Linked DNA regions of Homo sapiens: region 1 is linked to region 2. Evidence: promoter capture Hi-C in 16 types of primary human blood cells and fetal thymus (Javierre and others, 2016). All regions are on one chromosome and are shown on one strand. Each heading gives the region's core, a stretch centred on a gene start or on the middle of the fragment in contact. The rest is flanking DNA. Distances are from core to core; before and after follow the strand shown. Region 1 overlaps FOXP1 (forkhead box P1). Region 2 holds the start of FOXP1 (forkhead box P1).

Region 1 (4,253 bases), core at 1,050-3,549, 540 kb before region 2:
CCACAGCAGACACTACTATTCCCTTAGAAGGCACTTCCAGCCAAGGAATTCAGCTTGTACGGAGTGAGCACTTGGCAGAAGGAGTAGGCCTGGAAGCCTGGAAATCCAACCCATCCAATGAGAAACTACACGACTTCTGCCCGGGTTCCTAAGCTGAGAGTAGATCTACATAAGTGCTAATTCCATGTTGAAAAGGTGAAAATAATTAGATGCTTCACACCCAAACCATACTGAATACATTCCTCAGTAATTATATGCACATTCAAGTCACATGGATCCAATTAGGGATCACTGAGATATGACGAGGCAGGGCCACCCACCCCTCTCATGTTAAAGGCAGTTTTGGACCCATCTCAGTGGCTGGTTCCTACCTTTCCCTTTTGGGAGTGTGGACTGAGAGCTGTCCATTGGTAGAGGCATGTGGGTTCATTATTAAGGAGGTCTTGGAAGGTGCAGAGGAGGAGACACATGTCGTGGTCAGATCCAAACTGCTGTGATTGTTGCCTGTGGTTTCTTCTGCAGTATGAGCACTTGTCACTTCTTTCCAGAGCTGCTGCAGTTCTGTTGGAATCATGCCTGAAACAAACAAATTGGATAATTAAATCAATTAACAGCTAATTCCGTCCTCTTCAAACAGCAATTAAATCAAAGAGTCAGTAAACAAAGCCTAGTGTTAGGGGGGTTTTTCGGTGTGTGCAGTTTTTTTTCCCCTCCCAACTACGGCAGATGCGGTAGTAAAAAGTGTGTCCTCTTACCGAGCAACTGAGTGGAAGTTGCCCTCATCGCACATAAAAGACTCAGGTGAAAGTGACTCAAAACACAGTTACTTTGCCACAACAGTATGCCTCTAACCATCCCAAGTGTTATTTCTCAATTTTGATGAAAAGTAGATAGATGTTACCTTAGTTTTAGACACAAAGAAGGGCTCAAAATAAATTTGTTCAACTATACTATTATGACAACATGAACTACAAAATGAATAATTTTTGTGCTTAAGTCTTAAATGATGACAAATAGCTTTGTTATTAAATATAGTTTTTATTAATCACTTTTAGACATAAATTATGAATTCATATCGTCTTCCTGAAATGCTTTTCAACTTTTAACAGTCAAATTGATTATACTATGATTATTTCATTAACACACCTATCTTCCTCATTAATTTTGGTTTCTAGTACCACATGCTTAATTGATGGATGTGTCTACTGAAAAACTGTGTAACTTTTTATACAAGTAACACTATTATTACTGTCATTTCTTAGATCAATGGTAATGAACCATTGCAGAATAAAATGCAAACGTAAAATAAACTTACAGTAATGAAGTTCTCTTGTTTTTTTAAAGGGGATCTAAATGGACATGGGTTTTAAGGAGTGAATCCAGTATTTTCCCCCAAGAAGAGATACAATCAGTATGCCAATCTCACTATTGTGGGCCTCTTCGTCTTTATCCTGCTGGCATGCCTCTGTAGCCCAGGTTTCCAAATCCCACCTCAATGCATATTCTAGCCCACACATGCACAGAATAAAGATATTCTAGATGACAACTAACAAAAACAACAACAACGACAACAAGCAACAAAACTTCCTTTGGAGGAACACCGAAAAGAAAACATAAACCCTGCACATCCTAAGGCAATACCACATTAGAAGTGGACGTCTGGATTGCAGTTCATTGTTTCAATCAAGTGTAACACAGCCATCCCAGAAAGCCTGCCATTTTCTGACTATATAGCAGCAGCTGAAACAGGCATGTTTCTTACCAAACCTAAGGTATCGAATTAAAAAAGAAGGCTGTGTGCATTATATTCATTTGAAACACATAATAAAAAATGCCAAGGTCTAAATTTAATTTATTTTTGTCATTTAGAATACAATGGATAGATAATCATCTCAACGTGATCAGCCAAACATCTTTACTTTGCTAAACTGTTAAAGATTTTAATTATGCTAGCATTGGAGAGCACTGGTCTAATGAGGCGATGGACTCCAGAGAATCCGAGTGGTTAAGAACTGTGAAATGAGTCTGATAGGATTTTTTTATATTCACCGTGGATCGTTTGCATATCAAAGAGGAGTAAATTATTGCACAGCAGACCAATAACCTTCCCCGCCTTTCTGAGAGGAGCGTTAACAAAAACAGTTGGTCCCTCCTAACGGTTCTCCACGAAAATGTTCAAATGCTCAAGCATTTGCAATTAATATATATTATAAAGGAGGCTTCAAATGATACATTAAGTGGTCAGATATTCTTAGGAGGCATCCTCGACAGACAAGTCGGTTTTCTTCTCCCTTCATAAAAATCAAATGCCAATTATATTTTGATGGATTTTGTCCCAAATGAGCATTTAGTTATTAGGCATAGTCAATTATTACTTGTCCCCTGAAATTAAGCCTCAGAGGCAAATTAAACAAAGGGGAAAGGTCACTCCACAACCCCATGTCCGGTTTTGCTGCATCTGAACTATTATTTTCCAACACCTTTCGAAGTGACAGGTGGGATGCGTTTGTAGCTAGCAGGCCCGCTACTGTTGTCTGCACACCAACAATTACCTGTGAACATGGGTGACCCTCAGACCACTGTTTACTCAATGGAAACAATAGTTAATAGGCTTGTCTGTTGATGATGGCATACTGATATAAAACCACACAAGTCAACATCTATTTTTATTTTCTAGAGAGTAAACACATGAAAAGAACAAGCCACCTATTTCTCAACTCAAACTAAATGATTTCTGGGTCAGCTGCATGGGAGGTGGGAAGACTAGGACAGGGTCCTAACAACTGTGTTAACTCCCGCTTTCTCTCGAAGAAAAGCAGAACTTTGATGCTGTTTTAAAAGTAAGCTGTTTATCCAGCAAATAAAGACAAAGACAAATGTATTTACCACTTGTTATACCTACAGGGTGCATTAATGTTACTCTACTCTCCCATCTATTCCAATGGGCTGGCAATCAGTTCCATTATCCATAGAGAAAAATGGTAAATAAAAATAGTAACTCATTAAGTGACAACAGCGATACTTCTGGGTCAAACTGCAATGTGATAATTACTTTTAAGAACATTCTCATCACACTTAACACAGAAGCAGTCAAATCGCTTTCCTCCATCAATGCCATATATCGTTAGTGATGTTAAACTGTTAGTTCAATGAGCGCTACCTACCAAAGGGTGTTGTTATTTGACAGCTAAGATCTCATGTTAGACAGATAAAAGGTAACCCAGTCACTCATCAGACTAAATGGATAACAAATTTCCAGAAAGTATGTATTTCTTCCAAAATGGTAGACTAAGAATAATAGTACGAAGTTAAACAAATCCATTAGCAGGTACATAGCCAAGCATGTAATTTTCTGCTACCTAGAGTTTACATTTTAAAAATTAAAAGGTCAGAATAAGACTGAAAGAATATTTCTATATGAAATTACTGGTGCTAGGGAGGATGAGATGATTAAAGAGACCAGGGTGAAAAGCAGATAGGCTAATTATGTAAAACAGAAAGAAGACCCTACAATAACCTTAAAAACAACACAAAATATCCCTCCATTTCCTATTATAAAACCTTCAGGGAAAAAAAGGCCTTCAAAATATTAATTCTCTATCTATTCCTATACTTGACATTTACATGTTTAAGGTTAACTCGGCAAGGCCATGAACAGGTATGTAAAATAATCTTGATGATTTCATTATGAAGTGGGCATTACCAGTATTTTTAACAGATAACCCCCAAGTCTTGCAACATTTCTTTTTCCAGGACAACTGGCCCCTTCATTATAAAAGAAAATGCAGGCACAGGTTTAAAAAATGTATGTTGTGGGGACAGATGACAGATTACTGTTCATGGAACTCAATTTTACAACCCCAGGTATCACTGGCTCAAAGACAAACAGAGTTGATCAACCTTTTTTTGTCCTTGTACATCCATACCCAGGTGACCATGTTCAAGCAAGCAGAAAGTTGATTTAAACCTCATAATGACATCAGTTTTAAGCCATCATCTCTCTGATAAAAAAAAATTGTGTTCTAGTCCAACATGACTGAATTCTCTAGCCACTTGAGGTGAGGGAGTGGGGGGACAAAACCAACCTCCTGATTCAGAGAGATGGAAATAACACTGGTAGTTCACTTTACTGCAAGAACCTGACACCAGAAATATTTATATTTACATTTATGCCATCTTGGGCACACACAGAGGCACCCCTTAGATTTCAAATATGCTTCTTCCTAATGCTGCAGGGGCTAATAGTTATAGCA
Region 2 (4,038 bases), core at 452-2,951:
CAACTGTTTATTTAGTCCTTATTCTCACAGGGGGCGGGAGCTGCGCGGGAATGGGGGGCTGCAGGCAGCGATTTCGAAGCAAACACATGGGAGGGGGGCATGCGACTTTGTTTCCGGGAGCGGAGCTCCCCAGAGCCCGTGTGTGTCACTGCCAGTCTCCCGGGACCAAGGCGGAGCTCACAACAGGTGGGGAGGGGGGCTCGTCGAGGGCCAAAAAGAAGAAGGAATCTAAGTTTCCGAGCGCGACGTTGTCTGAAAAGGAGGGAGGCGGGAGGCGGGGGCGAGGGAAGGCGGAGGCAGCAAATGACCGCGACCCCGCGGCAACTGGCAAACTCCTCGGCTCCCGGCGCCGCCGCCACCGCCGTGGTCCCCACTCGAAGCGCACGCCGCCTCGGCTCGCTGGCTCCAGGGAGTCGTCTCGGCGGGACAGGAATAGAGCGCAGGGAGCTCGGGAGGAAGGCTGCGCGCAAGCGAGGGACGGAGAGCCATCGGCCGCCAGGACAGGGCCGGAGGGACGAGGCGACACGCGCGCGACGCAGGACAAATCGGAGCTTGGGAAATCTCCCCGTCCCCCAAGCTTCAGAGGGGGGTAAAATCAGAAAATGTGTGTGATGGTGGGAGAGAGATCCGGGCGCGGCGACTCCTCGCAGCGCATCCGGCTCCCGCACCCACCCGTGGATCTGGCCACGGCTGTTGCGGACTCGTCTCGGGAAAGCGGAGGCCGAGCGCGCGTAGGGGTGCGTGTCTGGCTGGGGGTGCGCAGGTGCGTGTTTGAATTTTCCGGGCTCCGAGGGGGTGGCGGGAGAGCTTCCTCGCCGCTGACTCTCGGGGTAACGCGCGCGTGGCAGCGGGGAAGTTCCCCAGTGCGGGGCCCAGGGCCAGGCACCACAGTCAGTTTGCTGGGGCCCGCGGGGCAGCTCAAGGGCACCGAGGGGGCACACACCCGCGGGGAAAGAAGGGGAAAAGTTTGCTCCAAGTCTAAACTTTGGGCCTAGGAGGCGCCCGGCGCGCGCCCCCTCCCGCCGCGGCCAGGACCCGGGACCCCGCACCGGCCCCGCGCCCGGGCGGCCACCGGACGCCAACGCCGGACATCGAAAGTTGCGCCAGGCGGCCTGGGCTTATTGATTTCTCTCCCCTAGGCGATCGTGGAGAGCGCAGAGAGAGGCGTGAAGGGGCCTACGGGCAGGCGATCTCGCCTCCTCACAGTCGCCACCGCCCCCGCCCCCATTTGACTTATGCAAATAAACCCAAAGGGTGCGGGCGCCGCCGGAGCTCCCTCCACCCGCGCGCCGGCCCGCAGCCCCCACCCATCCCAGAGCTGGGCCTCGACCCGGGGGGGAGAGGAAGAGAGGGGAGGGCTGGGGGAGATGCACGTGGAGCCTGGAGGTGGAAAGTAGTTGTTTTTTTTTTTCCATTTTTTTTCTCTTTTTCTTTCTTTCTTTTTTTTTTTTTGTGCTGGTTGTTGTTGTTGTTTAAAGTGGCGGAAACAAGACAGGAGGCGGCTTGGGAAAAAGTGGAGCAGAAATGGAAAAATACAAACTCACCCGCTGCAAATGGTCTCTCGGTGCAAACTAAGGTGTTTTCGGGCCTTTCCCCGCGCGCGCCCACTCCCGCCCGCGCGCGCACCCCGCGCACACACTCACTCGCGCACACACGCGCGCACACACGCACTCCCGGGCGAGGGCCGGGCCGCCGCGAGTACAGCGTGCAACCGCCACACAATAAATAACAATAGATTCCTCCGCTCCGGACTAGCTTCCCGGAGCCCAGCCAGCGCCGGTGGCGGCGGCGGCGGCGGCAGAGGCGCGGGCAGCACCGGCCCGGGGGCGCACCCCGGCCCGACCCTCTACCTCCCGCAGGGGTCCCCTCTCCGCTTCACGCACCCCGCTGGGCACTCCAGCGGCCCCCCGAGCGGGAGCGGCTCCCTCTTTGCCGTTCGCCGGGGCGCTGGCGCCCACCCCCCTCCTCCCTCCCCCCTCCCCCCCGACATCCCGGAACAAATAAATAAATAAGGCGCGCGAGAGAGGCCAACACGTCGCGGAGGGAGATGTTGTTATTTTTTGCTGTTGTGCGTCCCTGACGTCACATCCACCTGCTGGGTAAACAACCGGGCTCCCAGAAAAAAAAAATCGCAATTGCCAAAGAATGGGGGGGGGGGTTGGGGGGAGGGATCCAGGGAGGGGGAAGTGAGGGGCGTCCAGGCAGGATTGGAAAGAGGAGAGGGAGGCAGAGCCCCGCGGACCAGAGAGAGGAAGGGAACGCCAGAGCAGTCCCTGGCAACAGAGGGATCTGGCAGGAAAGACCTGGAAAATAAGGGGCAGGGGGGCGGAGGGGGAGATTCCTCAGGAGATGGGAAATGGGGGGCCCATTCAGACAGCGGAAAAAACGAGAAGGGAGAGTGTTAACTAGGGACGAAGATGGGAATGCGATGGCTATTTGCTTGGATTCTGAGCTAAAAATATGAAAGGGAGGGGAGAGGACAGGCTAGAATGTGAGTTTCCTCCAGTTAAAAGTGAAAGTGTTTTGCCATCAGTGACAGTTGAAGGAGAGCGGGGTGGGAGGTGGTGTTTTCAACCCCCTTTCTCCCTCTCTCCCGTCCTCCCTCGGTCTCTCCTCTTTCTTTCTGCACTTTGTCCAATGAAAGAAGGCGAGTTCGGGAGGTGAAAGTTCAGCAGAAGGACAAACCCCTGTTTGCAAGGAAACAGAAACCCCGCCAGCCAGCGAGGGGTTTTCTCCCCTGTTTCTCGGAATCAGGAGAGTGTGAATGTGGGACGAGCTTCTGCCCCCTTGTCAGAGCCACTGCAGGAATGTGCAATCGAGTCCACTTTGGGGGAAGGTGGCTGCATCAGGAACTGTGTTCTTGCCACGACTCCTCTTAGGAAAACGCCTGGGGGCTAGCATGTCAGTCCGTTGTTTAACACAAATTACCTGCTCTCCCAGTGATCAGTCACGTGCAAAAAGCTTTGTCCAATTCTTTGAAAAGGTGAGATTTTTTTTTTTCTTTTTGCGGTTTTTGAAGTTTGGTTGAATTTAGAAATTCGAAGGAATAAACTAAGAGCCTGAATTAAATGTTTTGAAATATACATACATAAAACAAAAGACACTAGTATTTCTTTCACTTTTATCAATACGCATAGAGAAGGAAGCAGAGTATGTGTTTCCAAAACGTGACTTGGAAAGCTGTAAGACCTCTATGTCTTGTTGTTGTTGTTGTTGTTGTTGTTAACAGAAGTAAATTTTTTCAGACCCACCACCACAGAAGTGGCCAGACTCCCAAACCAGCATTTCCAGCTACTGGCTGGCTGGTGTACACCAGGCCAATTCTTTATGAGAATATATTAAAAGTCACCCCTGTGGATTCCTACAAAGTACTTCCCCTTGCGGGGAGGGGAGAGGCTTACTGTCCCTTTGGTCTTGAGACCAGCACAGTTGTAGATAATATCCTGAAAAGGTTATTATTAAATTCTTTCGCGTAATGCCCCTTTACAAATATTGTTAAACATTAATTTACAGAAGAACTTAAATCTTAATTTCAAGGGTGGCATAAGACTATCGCTTTGAAATTGTATCTTTCGCAAGTTAAAAAAAAAAAATAACAAAGCCATTCGCTGATGCTACAGAATAAAAGAAAGGGAGGCTGCTAAGGTAATTTCAGCCTGGTAGAATTCACATTGCATGCATGCTGCATAAAGTTCCATGCTATCCAGATAAGACTATTCACTGAATCTTTTAGACTAGAATCTAGACCAATAAAATGCATTTTAGTTTGTATGGAATGTCCTAGCTTCCTAGAGGCTAGGGTTCGACGTCTTGTTTGTCAAGACATAAAGGGATTAATGACATACCCACTGTGTGCTAGACCACAGAGTGGGCACAGAGGGATGAAAAAATAAAAATTCCTGCCCTTGAGGAGCTCACAGTCTAAGCTGTCAATAATAACATCTAACATTTATTAAATACTATGATCTAGGCACTGAACTAAAAGCTTTATGTCAACTCAGTTAATACTGCCAACAACTCTTTGACATCACTGGAAAT

What was found. The method cuts DNA at HindIII sites, captures the fragments that hold promoters and counts their contacts. A CHiCAGO score of 5 or more calls a contact.
Region 1: a fragment that was not itself captured here is called in contact with the fragment with the promoter of FOXP1 in region 2 in 8 of 17 cell types (total B cells, non-activated CD4 T cells, neutrophils and 5 more); the score reaches 8.1 in total B cells.

What each region holds. Positions count from the first base shown.
Region 1 is chr3:71,040,957-71,045,209 of GRCh38, forward strand. FOXP1 (forkhead box P1) reads right to left here. Exons shown (of 21, transcript NM_001349338.3): 11 at 372-576. Among named protein-coding and RNA genes, the nearest start is that of FOXP1-AS1, 250 kb to the right of the region's middle. The HindIII fragment of the contact is 8,522 bases long and covers 1-4,253 here.
Region 2 is chr3:71,582,027-71,586,064 of GRCh38, forward strand. It overlaps FOXP1 (forkhead box P1), which reads right to left and starts at 1,702. Exons shown (of 21, transcript NM_001349338.3): 1 at 1,545-1,702. It overlaps FOXP1-DT (FOXP1 divergent transcript), which reads left to right and starts at 2,917. Exons shown (of 1, transcript NR_182289.1): 1 at 2,917-4,038. RefSeq lists a silencer at 1,575-1,814 and an enhancer at 1,892-2,186. The HindIII fragment of the contact is 2,384 bases long and covers 576-2,959 here.